4 separate regions of the Homo sapiens genome follow, and regions 1, 3 and 4 are each linked to region 2. Evidence: promoter capture Hi-C in human tissues and cell types (Jung and others, 2019). All regions are on one chromosome and are shown on one strand. Each heading gives the region's core, a stretch centred on a gene start or on the middle of the fragment in contact. The rest is flanking DNA. Distances are from core to core; before and after follow the strand shown. Region 1 has its middle 64 kb from the start of CRYM. Region 2 holds the start of EEF2K (eukaryotic elongation factor 2 kinase). Region 3 has its middle 3.7 kb from the start of CRYM. Region 4 overlaps LOC101927814 (a long non-coding RNA gene).

Region 1 (2,700 bases), core at 24-2,523, 860 kb before region 2:
GGAGGCGGAGCTTGCAGTGAGCCGAGATCACGCCACTGCACTCCAGCCTGGGGGACAGAGCGAGACAACATCAAAAAAAAAAAAAAAAAAAAAAAGATATTGCAGGTTGAGATAGGCCTGGAAATGCTATGCTTCAATCAAGGTAGGTTTGTGAAGGATTTGAAGATGGGAATGAATAGGAAGTCAAGTCAGTGGATGCAGCTATACATTCATTCATTTGTTAACATTTTTGGATATCTGTGACTGGGCATGGTGGCTCACACTTGTAATCCCAGCACTTTGGGAGGCTGAGGTGGGTGGATCACTTGAGGTCAGGACTTCGATACCAACCTGGCCAGCATGGTGAAACTCCGTCTCTATTGAAAATACAAAAATTAGCCATGTGTGGTGGTGGGCACCTGTAATCCCAGTTACTCAGGAGGCTGAGGCAGGAGAGTCACCTGAACCTGGGAGGTGGAGGTTGCAGTGACCCGAGATCGTGCCACTGCACTCCAGCCTGGGCAACAGAGTAAGAGTCCGTCTCAAAAAAAAAAAAAAGAAAAATGTGGATATCTGAACTTGTACCATGTCTAATATACAAAGACCAAGAAAAATCATTTCTTTTCCCATTGAGGGCTCACATGCAAAGTGTTTTATGAATTTACAGCCTCACTAGAAGGAGATGAGAATTCCTCATGCTCCATATTCTTGCCAATATTTAGAATTGCCAAGCTTTTAATTGTGCCAAATTAGGGATATGAAATGTTATCGCATAGCAATTTAAATCTACATTTCCCAATTGTTAATGAAGCTGTGTGTTACTAATATGAGTCATGTGTGTCTCCTCTTCTGTAACTGTTAGCGCATTCTGATTTTTTATAGTTATTGAAATTTTCTGACAATATTTTTACTTAAAGTCTATTTTGTCTGATATTCATATAACCACCCTGATCTCTTTTTGTTATTTTCATGGAGTATCTTTTTCCATCCTTTCACTTTCAACCAGTTTGTATATTTGAATCATTTTTAAAAAATCCATTCTGCCACCCTTGCCTTTTATTGAAGATAATAATACAGAACATTGGCCGGGCGTGGTGGCTCACACCTGTAATCCCAGCAGTTTGGGAGGCTGAGGCAGACACATCACAAGGTCAGGAGTTCGAGACCAGCCTGACCAACATGGTGAAACCCTGTCTTTACTAAAAATACAAAAATTAGCTGGGCGTGGTGATACGTGCCTGAAATCCCAGCTATTCAGGAGGCTGAGGCAGAAGAACTGCTTGAACCTGGGAGGCAGAGGTTGCAGTGAGCCAAGATCGTGCCACTGCATTCCAACCTGGGTGACAGAGCGAGACTCCATCTCAAAAAAAAAAAAAAAAATACAGAACTGACATCTGCCGTTTTGGTATTTGTTTTATATATGTCATATCTTTTTTCTCTCATAGCTTCCATTTTGAGTCCCATCTAATTTCCTTTTCTGTATATTTTCTAGTTCTTCTCTGAGGGGATAATTTGGATTTTACAATTAGTATCTTAAACAATTTAATTTGGGTTAATAACAATTTAGCTTTAATACTATACAAAAGCTCTTCTGTCAAGCTTCAGCCCCTCTTTGTGTTGGTATTTTTGCAAATTACATCTTTATATTGTGTGCCTATTAACATGTTTATCATTATTTTATGCATTTATCTTTTAAATCATATAGAAGGAAAAAGAAACCATTATCATAACACTGGCTTTTATATCTGCCTATGTAGTTACCTTCACTGGAGCTCTTTATTTTTTCATGTGACTTCATGTTACCATCTAATGTCCTTTCATTCAGCTGAAAGAACTATATTATAGGGCAGGTGTATTAGCAAATTTTCTTAGCTTTTGCTAATCTGGCAATTTCTAATATCTCCTAATTTTTTTTTTTTTTTTTTTTTTTTGAGACAGAGTCTTGCTATGTTGCTGAGGCTGGAGTACAGTGGCCTTTCTACTACAATGAGGAATTCTGCCTTGGGACTTGAGAGAGGTAGCAGTCCTAGGGTGTGGGTTAGGGGCATTCACTGAAATACCATGTAGCAGCGTAACCTGTGGCTATTGAAATGTGGCTGTAGGAATATTGCTCATGACTTGACTTCTGCTCTTGAATATTCATAGCTGGGCAGCAGAGAGCGATGTGAGGACTATACTTATGGCATGATACCATTTTTATTGCAAATATATAGGTATATGTGGAAGTTGATTAAAAATTTATGTGTGATCATTTTTACAGTGCCTATCTCTAGGTAGTAGGATAATTTTTATTTTTCCCTTTGTCTTTTATTGTAGTTTCTCAGTTATTTCCAATAAGCACTGCATTAATTTTATAGTTGTAAAAAATGTTGTTTAAAAGTCAGGGAGCCCAGGCGTGGTGGCTCATGCCTGTAATCCCAGCACTTTGGGAGGCTGAGGCAAACTGATCACCTGAGGTCAGCAGTTCGAGATCAGCCTGGACAACATGGTGAAACCCCGTCTCTACTAAAAATACAAAACTTAGCCAGGTGTGGTGGCACATGCCTCTAATCCCAGCTACTTGGGAGGCTGAGGCAGGAGAATTGCTTGAATCCAGGAGGTAGAGGTTGCAGTGAGCTGAGATTATGCCACCGCACTGTAGCCTGGGTGACAGAGCGAGACTATATCTCAAAAAAAAAAAAAAAAAAAAAAAAAGCCGGGTGCTGTGGCTCACATGTGTAA
Region 2 (2,700 bases), core at 157-2,656:
GACGCTAATGCAAAGAAGGACACTCCTGCTGGGCAGACAAAAATGACAGAGGCTCAGAGAAGTAAAATAACTTGCCCAAGGGCCATAGAGCTTTAAGCAGTAGCGTCTTTTTTTTTTTTCCAATCTTGCTTTGGGCTTGGACAGACTAGTTCAGCATCTTTGATCTTCCCTTCCTGCCTGACGGCCCCAGGGTCAGAATTCCAGGTGCAATTTTGTCTTGCCAAAAGCTGGAGTTTACTCTCTTTGGGGTTTATAAATAAGGAAAAAAGTTCTTTGGAGAGCCTGAACTTTGAAATCAGAGAAGTCTGGATTTACTGCTGGCTCTGCCTTTTCTAGCTGCCTCACCTGGGGCATGTCATTATCTCTATAAGCCTCAGTTTTGTTCTTTTTTCTTTTTTATTTTTTTGTTTTTGTTTTTTTGCGACGGAGTCTCATTCCTTCACCCAGGCTGGAGTGTAGTGGCGCGATCTCGGCTCACTGCAACCTCTGCCTCCAGGGTTCAAGCGATTCTCGTGCCTCAGCCTCCAGAGTAGCTGGGACTACAGGCGCGCCCGGCTGCTTTTTTGTATTTTTACTAAAGACAGGGTTTTACCGTTTTGGCCAGGCTGGTCTCGAACTCCTGACCTCAGGTGATCTGCCGGCCTCGGCCTCCCAAAGTGCTGGGAAGATGGAATGAGAGAAATCCCTCAAAACATGTCATTGTTACTACTTTTCTATCTAGAATGTGTGAAATTTCTAAAATTTCACTAACAAAGTATCTGGAAGGACCTAATATTAAAGTGTTCACAGTAGCTATTAGTTTTAATTCGTTTTCTTTTTTATACCTTAGCCACTCTACCACTCATGCCACAGGTATTTATTAAGCATCTACTGTGTGCCACCCAGGCCCTGTGTCAAGAGTTAGGAATAACTAAAGGAGATACTAATTTTAAAACTACACAAATAATTGCAATCGTCATACGTGCCTGTTTTTACAAAGCAGAAATCAGGAAAAACAAAGTATTTCCGATAAAAAATATTTTAAGGTTATGGATAGAGATACATACAAACAAGCGATGGGCTTGGATCACTAATGATTTTGGAAAGGACAGGAATACAGGAACTAAGCGAGAAGCAGGCGAGAATGGCGAGGCGCGGCGGGAGAGGACGGAAGTTGGTCACTCCCTCGAATTGCCCCCTCGCTGCCGGATGCTAGGCCAGCCTTGAGCAGGAGAACCGGACACTGTGTACTCAGCAGGGGGAGCCAAGACTTAGCGCTAACCATTGCACCTGGGGCTGGGAGCCAGCGCCGGAGCCAGGAGGCCCGCTAGGCGGCTGCAGGCGCTGTGATGGCCACCTGGGGGCGGCCACGTGAGCGCCACGCCGTGCGCCCGCCAGGCCAGCCCCGCCCCTGCCCGCCCGCTTCTGCTCAACCTAGACCAGCCCCAGCTTCAGCCTCAGCTCCCCTCCTTCCTGGATCGAGCGCCCGCACTCCCGGCCCTGCAGCCACCCGAGTCCCGCTCGCTGTCGCCTGCACGCGAGTCCCCCCTGGCACGCGCTCCCACATCCCGGGATCGTCCCAACGGCCCCTGCGCCCTTCCTGGGATCACTCCGACTGCCCCGCGCGCCCTGGGATCGGTCCATCTACCCCGCGTGGCCCCAGCTGCTTGCCCGGAGCGCCAGCTAGCGCTCCCCGCTCTCCGCTCCCCGGCACTCTCGGGGGGCCCGCCCGCCCTGCACCCTGGAGCTCCGGGCCGCGAGCCTCTGCCAACTCCTCTGGACCCTCGCGGCCGTGGGCAGCGGCTGCCGCGCCTGTCTGCCCGAGGGAGGTAGGTGTGGACCGCGGCCGGCAAGGCTGTGGGGGGCTGGGAGCCCGCGCTGCAGGCCTGTGCGCCCGGGTGCAGCTGGCGTCTGGAGCGTGCTGGGTCTGGGCTTGGGAATGGGGCCGGAGAAGGCATGGAAGGAGAGTGTGGGGGCGCTTCTCCTCTGGTTGTTAAACTCTCTGGGGCTAAGTGCTTGCTTTGGAGAAATGGGGAAGTTGTGCGGATTAAAGGCGATGTGGATATGGAAAGCAATTGGCAAGCAATGGGCGGTGATCTGGCTGCAAGTGACAGAGAGTTTGGGGGCCTCCCCCCTCGGGGCCCCTAGAGTGTGGGCGCATCGCTGCCTTCCTGTCCCCTGCAGGGCTCAGAGCCGCATCCCCCACCTTTCCCCTGAACTAGAGGCCTGCGTCAGCCCGAATTCCCGGAACCTCCAGGACTGTATAGACGCGCCCTTGCTGCATTGTTGGCTGCGGGAGTTTGTTGGCAGGCGCTGCTGACATGTGTGCCAAGGGGCTGGGCATTAATAAGCCGGTGGCCGCGCGGGGGTGGGGGCCTCCCGGGTAAGCCCCGGCCTAGATCCTTTTGCGCGCGCCTGGGGGATTTCGGGGAACCAGCCCAGCTGCGCCCTGAGTGTGACAGATGGGCCGCATGGGGAAGTGAGATCTGCCCAGGGGGACGGTCCCAGGGAGCCCGACCTCTGGGACCTCGGTGGTGGGTGCTTCTTCAGCCAGGAAAGCAGGAAACACTAGGGCTGGAGTCCTGGGTTGGAATTCTAGCTCATTTATGCTCTCTGGCCCTCGGTTTTCTCATCGGTAAAATGGGTACAGTATTAGTATCTACCACTTAGTATCCTTGGAAAGAGTAGATGAGTATGTATATGTCAGGTGCTTGGAACAGT
Region 3 (2,700 bases), core at 43-2,542, 920 kb before region 2:
GACTCTTTGTGGCAATACGATAACAAATTATAAACAGGATCTAAGGCCATGCCAGGAAGGGTTAAGTCACGCACCCTTACACTTAAAGAAAAAAGCTATGTTCTAACTGCCACAGAGTTTTTGTTTTCTCCAGCAGCTAAACAAGCACTGGCTTGAAGATAAGCAATATTTTTGTTTTTGTTTTCCCCAGCCCTGCTCAGAGAAGATAGGGAACATGGCTTGGGCACAGTGGCTCACACCTGTAATCCCAGCACTTTGGGAGGCCAAGGCGGGCGGATCATGTGAGGTCAGGAGTTTGAGACCAGCCTGGCCAACGTGATGAAACCCCATCTCTACAAAAAGTACAAAAATTAGCCAGGTGTGGTAGCATGTGCCTGTAATCCCAGCTACTCAGGAGGCTGAGGCAGGAGAATTGCTTGAACCAGGGAGGTGGAGGTTGCAGTGAGCCGAGATCGTGCCACTGCACTCCAGCCTGGACAACAGAGTGATTCTCTCTCTCTCTCACTCTCTCTCTCTCTCTCTCTCTCTCTGTATATATATATATACACAAACATATATGTATATACATATATACGTATCTATGTATCTATATAGATATGTATATGTATCTATGTATCTATATAGATATGTATATATGTGCATATATATATATATAAATTTTTTTTTTGAAACAAAGTCCCTCTCTGTCACCCAGACTGGAGTGCAGTGGCATGATCTCAAGTGATTCTCCTGCCTCAGCCTCTCAGGTAGCTGGGATTACAGGTGCATGCCACCACCCCCGGCTAATTTTTGTACTTTCAGTAGAGATGGGGTTTTGTCATGTTGGCCAGGCTGGTCTCGGTCTCGAACTCCTGACCTGAGATGATCCACCCGCCTTGGCCTCCCAAAGTGCTGGGATTACAGGCATGAGCCACCGTGCCCGGCTGAAGATATGCAATATTAAAACAATTACAACTCATCCAAATCACAGATATTGACTAACCGACCCCTTGTTCCACCAGCCATAACTACAGCTTGATTGGACAAGAGACTGATTTCAGTAACTTTCTCCTGATAAGACTACCGACTATAGGATGGTTCTGGCTGACTTACAGAGGTTGCACACTTGCATGCCTTCATGTCCTGAAAAGACCTTTTGACGTATCAGGCTGAATTGTAATACATTTAAATGCTGCAACCACCCCAAAATGAACATGAGTTGTATGTAACATGCATGTTTGTTAAATACACATGCATCAGGACCACTTTCATGAATATTCATAGCTTCTTCTCTCACCTGTTGAATATGTATATTTAGCCAACCTGTTGAGCATAAAGCTCCTACCCCAACCCTCCTCCTTCAAAGTGCCTGTCTCTGATCTTGGCCAAGGCATGTGATATGGTTTGGCTCCATGTCCACACCCAAATCTCTTCTTATAGCTCCCATAATTCCCACATCTTGTGGGAGGGACCCAGTGGGAGATGACTGAATCATGGAGGCGGGTCTTTCCCCTGCGGTTCTGATGATAGTGAATGAGTCTCACGAGATCTGATGGTTTTAAAAATGGGAGTTGCCCTGCACAAGCTCTCTCTTTGCTATTGCCCTCCATGTAAGATGTGACTTGTTCCTCCTTGCCTTCCACTATGATTGTGAGGCCTCCCCAGCCATGTGGAACTGTAAATCCAATAAGCCTCTTTCTTCTGTAAATTGCCCAGTCTCAGGCATGTGTTTATAGACAGCATGAAAACGGAATAATACAGCGTGCTTCCCAGCATAGGATCCCACCTTGCAGGCTGTAACCTCGTATAAGAAAGTCTCTTCTTGTCTAAATTTATAAATTGTGTGGTTTTTTTTTTAAAGTTAACAAGGAGAAAAAAAGCAAAACCAAATACTCATCAACTAAAAGAGATATGAAATAAGAAAGCCAGATATTTATTTGCTTCCATAGTAAATTCAGGAATTTAGCCCCGATTAAATAGAAATCTTATTTCTGACTCCCACATTACTAGAAAGTTTATTAATCTTCTTTAAGTCATGATTATAATAGTAATTTCATTATTTTAACAATGACAAAATAAGAAACCTCAATAATAGGAATTCACTCCAGTGAATCCTGTAGAAACAGGACAACTCTGCAAATCATCTCAAATCATCTTCCTGATAAAGCTTTGGTTCACATCACCCAGGTCCTCAGTAAAGTAGCACTGAGAAAACTAGTCTTGGTTGCATCACTTCTTTTGAGACCAGAGGCACAGAGAACTAATTGTCCCAAGCCTCCAATAATAAGTATTATTAATAAGTAGCATATTAAATATTAGGTGTTATTGAGGTTTATTTTATTATTATTAAAATAATGAAATTATTATTATAATTATGACTTAACAGAAAGAAGATTAATAAACTTTTTAGTAATGCAGGGGTCAGTATTGAGAAAGCTGGTGTAAATCTCTTTTCCCCGCCCTTCCCTGAGACCTTGTCCTGGGACAAGCCTGGGGGCCATGTAAGCTCCTGTGCCTGAGCCTCTGGAAGTTCCCTGCTAACCCCTAACAGACCCTGCGGAGGAGGTGGTTACTTACATCCCCCTAGACTTCTGCCACTACCACAGTGAAGATGGCAGCAGGGTAGAGCTGTACCATAGTGAGGTACTCACCTATGGCACAAAATGTACGGGATTCACTCAGTAGTCATGATAAATATTAAACTAAAACATCTAAATGCAA
Region 4 (2,700 bases), core at 116-2,615, 610 kb before region 2:
TTAAGATCACTTATGTTTATGTATATACACATTTGGTCTATCGTAAAAAATTTACATTTTAAGTTTTAAAAGATTTCTCATAATACAGGACACTTCCCCCATGTATTTCATATAAACCATAAGTTTTAATGTTTCATATTTATAAAATAAGAAGCCTTTATAATTTCAAAATAAATACCCACGGTGAATTTGGTGGAGAGGAAGCAGTCATTTAGAAGAGCAAGCCCACATACATGCAAAAGAAAGCAATTAAGAGGCCAAGGACAGGGTTGTTTCGAAAGGATATTTAAAACTAGATGAAAGATATTTGGACCTTCAAAAATGCCCTAGAAACTGAATGAAAGCAACAGCCTTCTGTCTTTTGTCAGAGCTCTGACTCATAGACCTGTTATTGGAAGGACATTATTTAGTTGAAATATATATTTAAAAATACTTATATTCCTTTAAGTAGCTTATACTGTATGTGAAGATGTCTTTTAAGGATTCAGAAGCACAGGCAGAAGGATCTGTATAAATACAGAAGTGGGCTGGGCGTGGTGGCTCACGCCTGTAATCCCAGCACTTTGGGAGGCTGAGGCGGGGTGGATCACCTGAGGTTGGGAGTTCGAGACCAGCCTGACCTACATGGAGAAACCGCCTCTCTACTAAAAATACAAAAAAAATCAGCCAGGCATGGTGGCGCATGCCTGTAATCCCAGCTACTCAGGAGGCTGAGGCAGGAGAATCGCTTGAACCCGGGAGGCGGAGCTTGCAGTGAGCCGAGATCCCGCCATTGCACTCCAGCCTGGGTAACAAGAGTGAAAGTCCATCTTGAAAAAATAAAAATAAAAAAAAAGCACAACTTAGGTGGTACAAAACATGTGTATTAAAATGCCTAATTTAGAGGCCAGGCATGGTAGCTCATGCCTGTAATCCTGGCACTTTGGGAGGTCGAGGCAGGCAGATCACTTGAGTCCAGGAGTTCAAGACCAGCCTGGGCAACATGGCGAACTGTGTCTCTATAAGATAACATAAAAAACTAGCCGGGCATGGTGGTGTGTGCCTGTAGCCCCAGCTACTTGGGGGGCTGAGGTGGGAGGATCGCTTGAGCTAGGAGGCGGAGGTTGCAGTGAGCTGAGATTGTGCAACTGCACTCCAGCCTGGGCAACAGAGACCCTGTCTCAAAAAATAATAATTAAATAAAATAAAATGCCTAATTCACACAGTTCTGTTGGAGAAACTGATTCATTTGGTGGAGCCCAGGATTTAGGTTGAAGGACTCTCCCTAATTAATTTGTCTTATAGTAGACTAAGTTTAAAGTAGATGGCTGTTCATCTCTTGGACTGCTTAAGTAACTTGTCCAAGGAGAGCTAGGTTTACATCTGCCTTATGATTCCATAATAACCACCACAGCTACTATCTGAGAGCTGACTATATATATAGGGGATTGTGCTGACAGCTGCCCAGACAACTCATTTCGTTTTCTCCAGGACTCTGTGAGTGTATGTGAGGGACACTGGGATTCCTCACATTCTAGAAGGCTCTGATGAGCAGTCGGAGGTAGCAGGTGGGACTCTACTCCAGAGGTTGAGCTCGGACACTGGAGTGGACACTGGACCAGATTAAGAACTAGCCAAAACAGGGCCTGGGCGAAAGTAGTTTTAATCAGACATGCTCACCAGTGTGCCATGTCGATTTACCACTGCCATGGCAACACTCGACAGTTACTGTCACTTTCCATGGCAGTGATCCAATGACCTAGGAGTTACTGCCCATTCCCTAGAAATTTCTGCATAAACAGCTCTTTAATCTACATGCAATTATTTATTTATTTATTTATTTTTTGAGACAGAGTCCTGCTCCATTGCCCAGGCTGGAGTGCAGTGACATGCGATCTCGGCTCACTGCAACCTCTGCCGCCCGGGTTCAAGCGACTCCTGCCTCAGCCTCCTGTGTAGCTGGGATTACAGGCGCCTGCCACCACACCTGGCTATTTTTTGTATGTTTAGTAGAGATGGGGTTTCACCATGTTGGCCAGGCTGGTCTCGAACATCTGACCTCATGATCCACCCACCTCAACCTTCCAAAGTGCAGGGATTATAGGCATGAGCCACCATGCCCAGCCTCCCACTTTTAGTTTCAAGTACAGGCTGGGTACAGTGGCTCTCGCCTATAATCCCAGCACTTTGGGAGGTCGAGGCAGGCAGATCATGAGGTCAGGAATTCGAGACCGCCTGGCCAACATGGTGAAACCCCGTCTCTACTCAACATAGAAAAATTAGTTGGATGTGGTGGCGCATGCCTGTAGTCCCAGCTACTCAGGAGGCTGAGGCAGGAGAGTCACTTGAACCTGGGAGGCGGAGGTTGCAGTGAGCTGAGATCGTGCCACTGCACTCCAGCCTGGCGACAGAGCGAGACTCCATCTCAAAAAAAAAAAAAAAAAAGTGGGTATAAATATGGCTACAGAACTGAACTACCCTCAGCTGCTACTCTCTCCCTATGGGGTAGCCCTGCTCTGCAGGAGCAGTCATGGAGCTGTAACACAGCCTCTTCAATATAGCTGTTTTCTTCTACCTCTGGCTTGCCTTTGAATTCCTTCCTGATAAAGCCAAGAACCCAGAGGGCTAAGCACCACTTTGGGACTTGCCTGTCCTGCACTATCTCCATTTCTGTTGTCACAATTATTGGGGATACCTGTAGTCCAGGAGGAACTTGGGAAA

Evidence for each region. The method cuts DNA at HindIII sites, captures the fragments that hold promoters and counts their contacts. A contact is called where the count stands out against the background at its distance.
Region 1: a fragment that was not itself captured here is called in contact with the fragment with the promoter of EEF2K in region 2 in 2 of the 25 tissues and cell types used here (lymphoblastoid cells and mesendoderm cells).
Region 3: a fragment that was not itself captured here is called in contact with the fragment with the promoter of EEF2K in region 2 in 1 of the 25 tissues and cell types used here (H1 embryonic stem cells).
Region 4: a contact is called between a fragment that was not itself captured here and the fragment with the promoter of EEF2K in region 2, in 1 of the 25 tissues and cell types used here (spleen).

Annotation. Positions count from the first base shown.
Region 1 is chr16:21,340,591-21,343,290 of GRCh38, forward strand. No RefSeq gene overlaps it. Among named protein-coding and RNA genes, the nearest start is that of CRYM, 64 kb to the left of the region's middle. The HindIII fragment of the contact is 4,162 bases long and covers 1-2,700 here.
Region 2 is chr16:22,204,872-22,207,571 of GRCh38, forward strand. EEF2K (eukaryotic elongation factor 2 kinase) reads left to right here and starts at 1,407. Exons shown (of 18, transcript NM_013302.5): 1 at 1,407-1,808. RefSeq lists silencers at 1,178-1,477, 1,638-1,907. The HindIII fragment of the contact is 13,900 bases long and covers 1-2,700 here.
Region 3 is chr16:21,280,606-21,283,305 of GRCh38, forward strand. It overlaps a transcript of CRYM not described here. Among named protein-coding and RNA genes, the nearest start is that of CRYM, 3.7 kb to the left of the region's middle. The HindIII fragment of the contact is 6,987 bases long and covers 1-2,700 here.
Region 4 is chr16:21,590,682-21,593,381 of GRCh38, forward strand. All of the region lies in intron 2 of LOC101927814 (a long non-coding RNA gene), which reads right to left. Among named protein-coding and RNA genes, the nearest start is that of METTL9, 7.5 kb to the right of the region's middle. The HindIII fragment of the contact is 6,124 bases long and covers 1-2,700 here.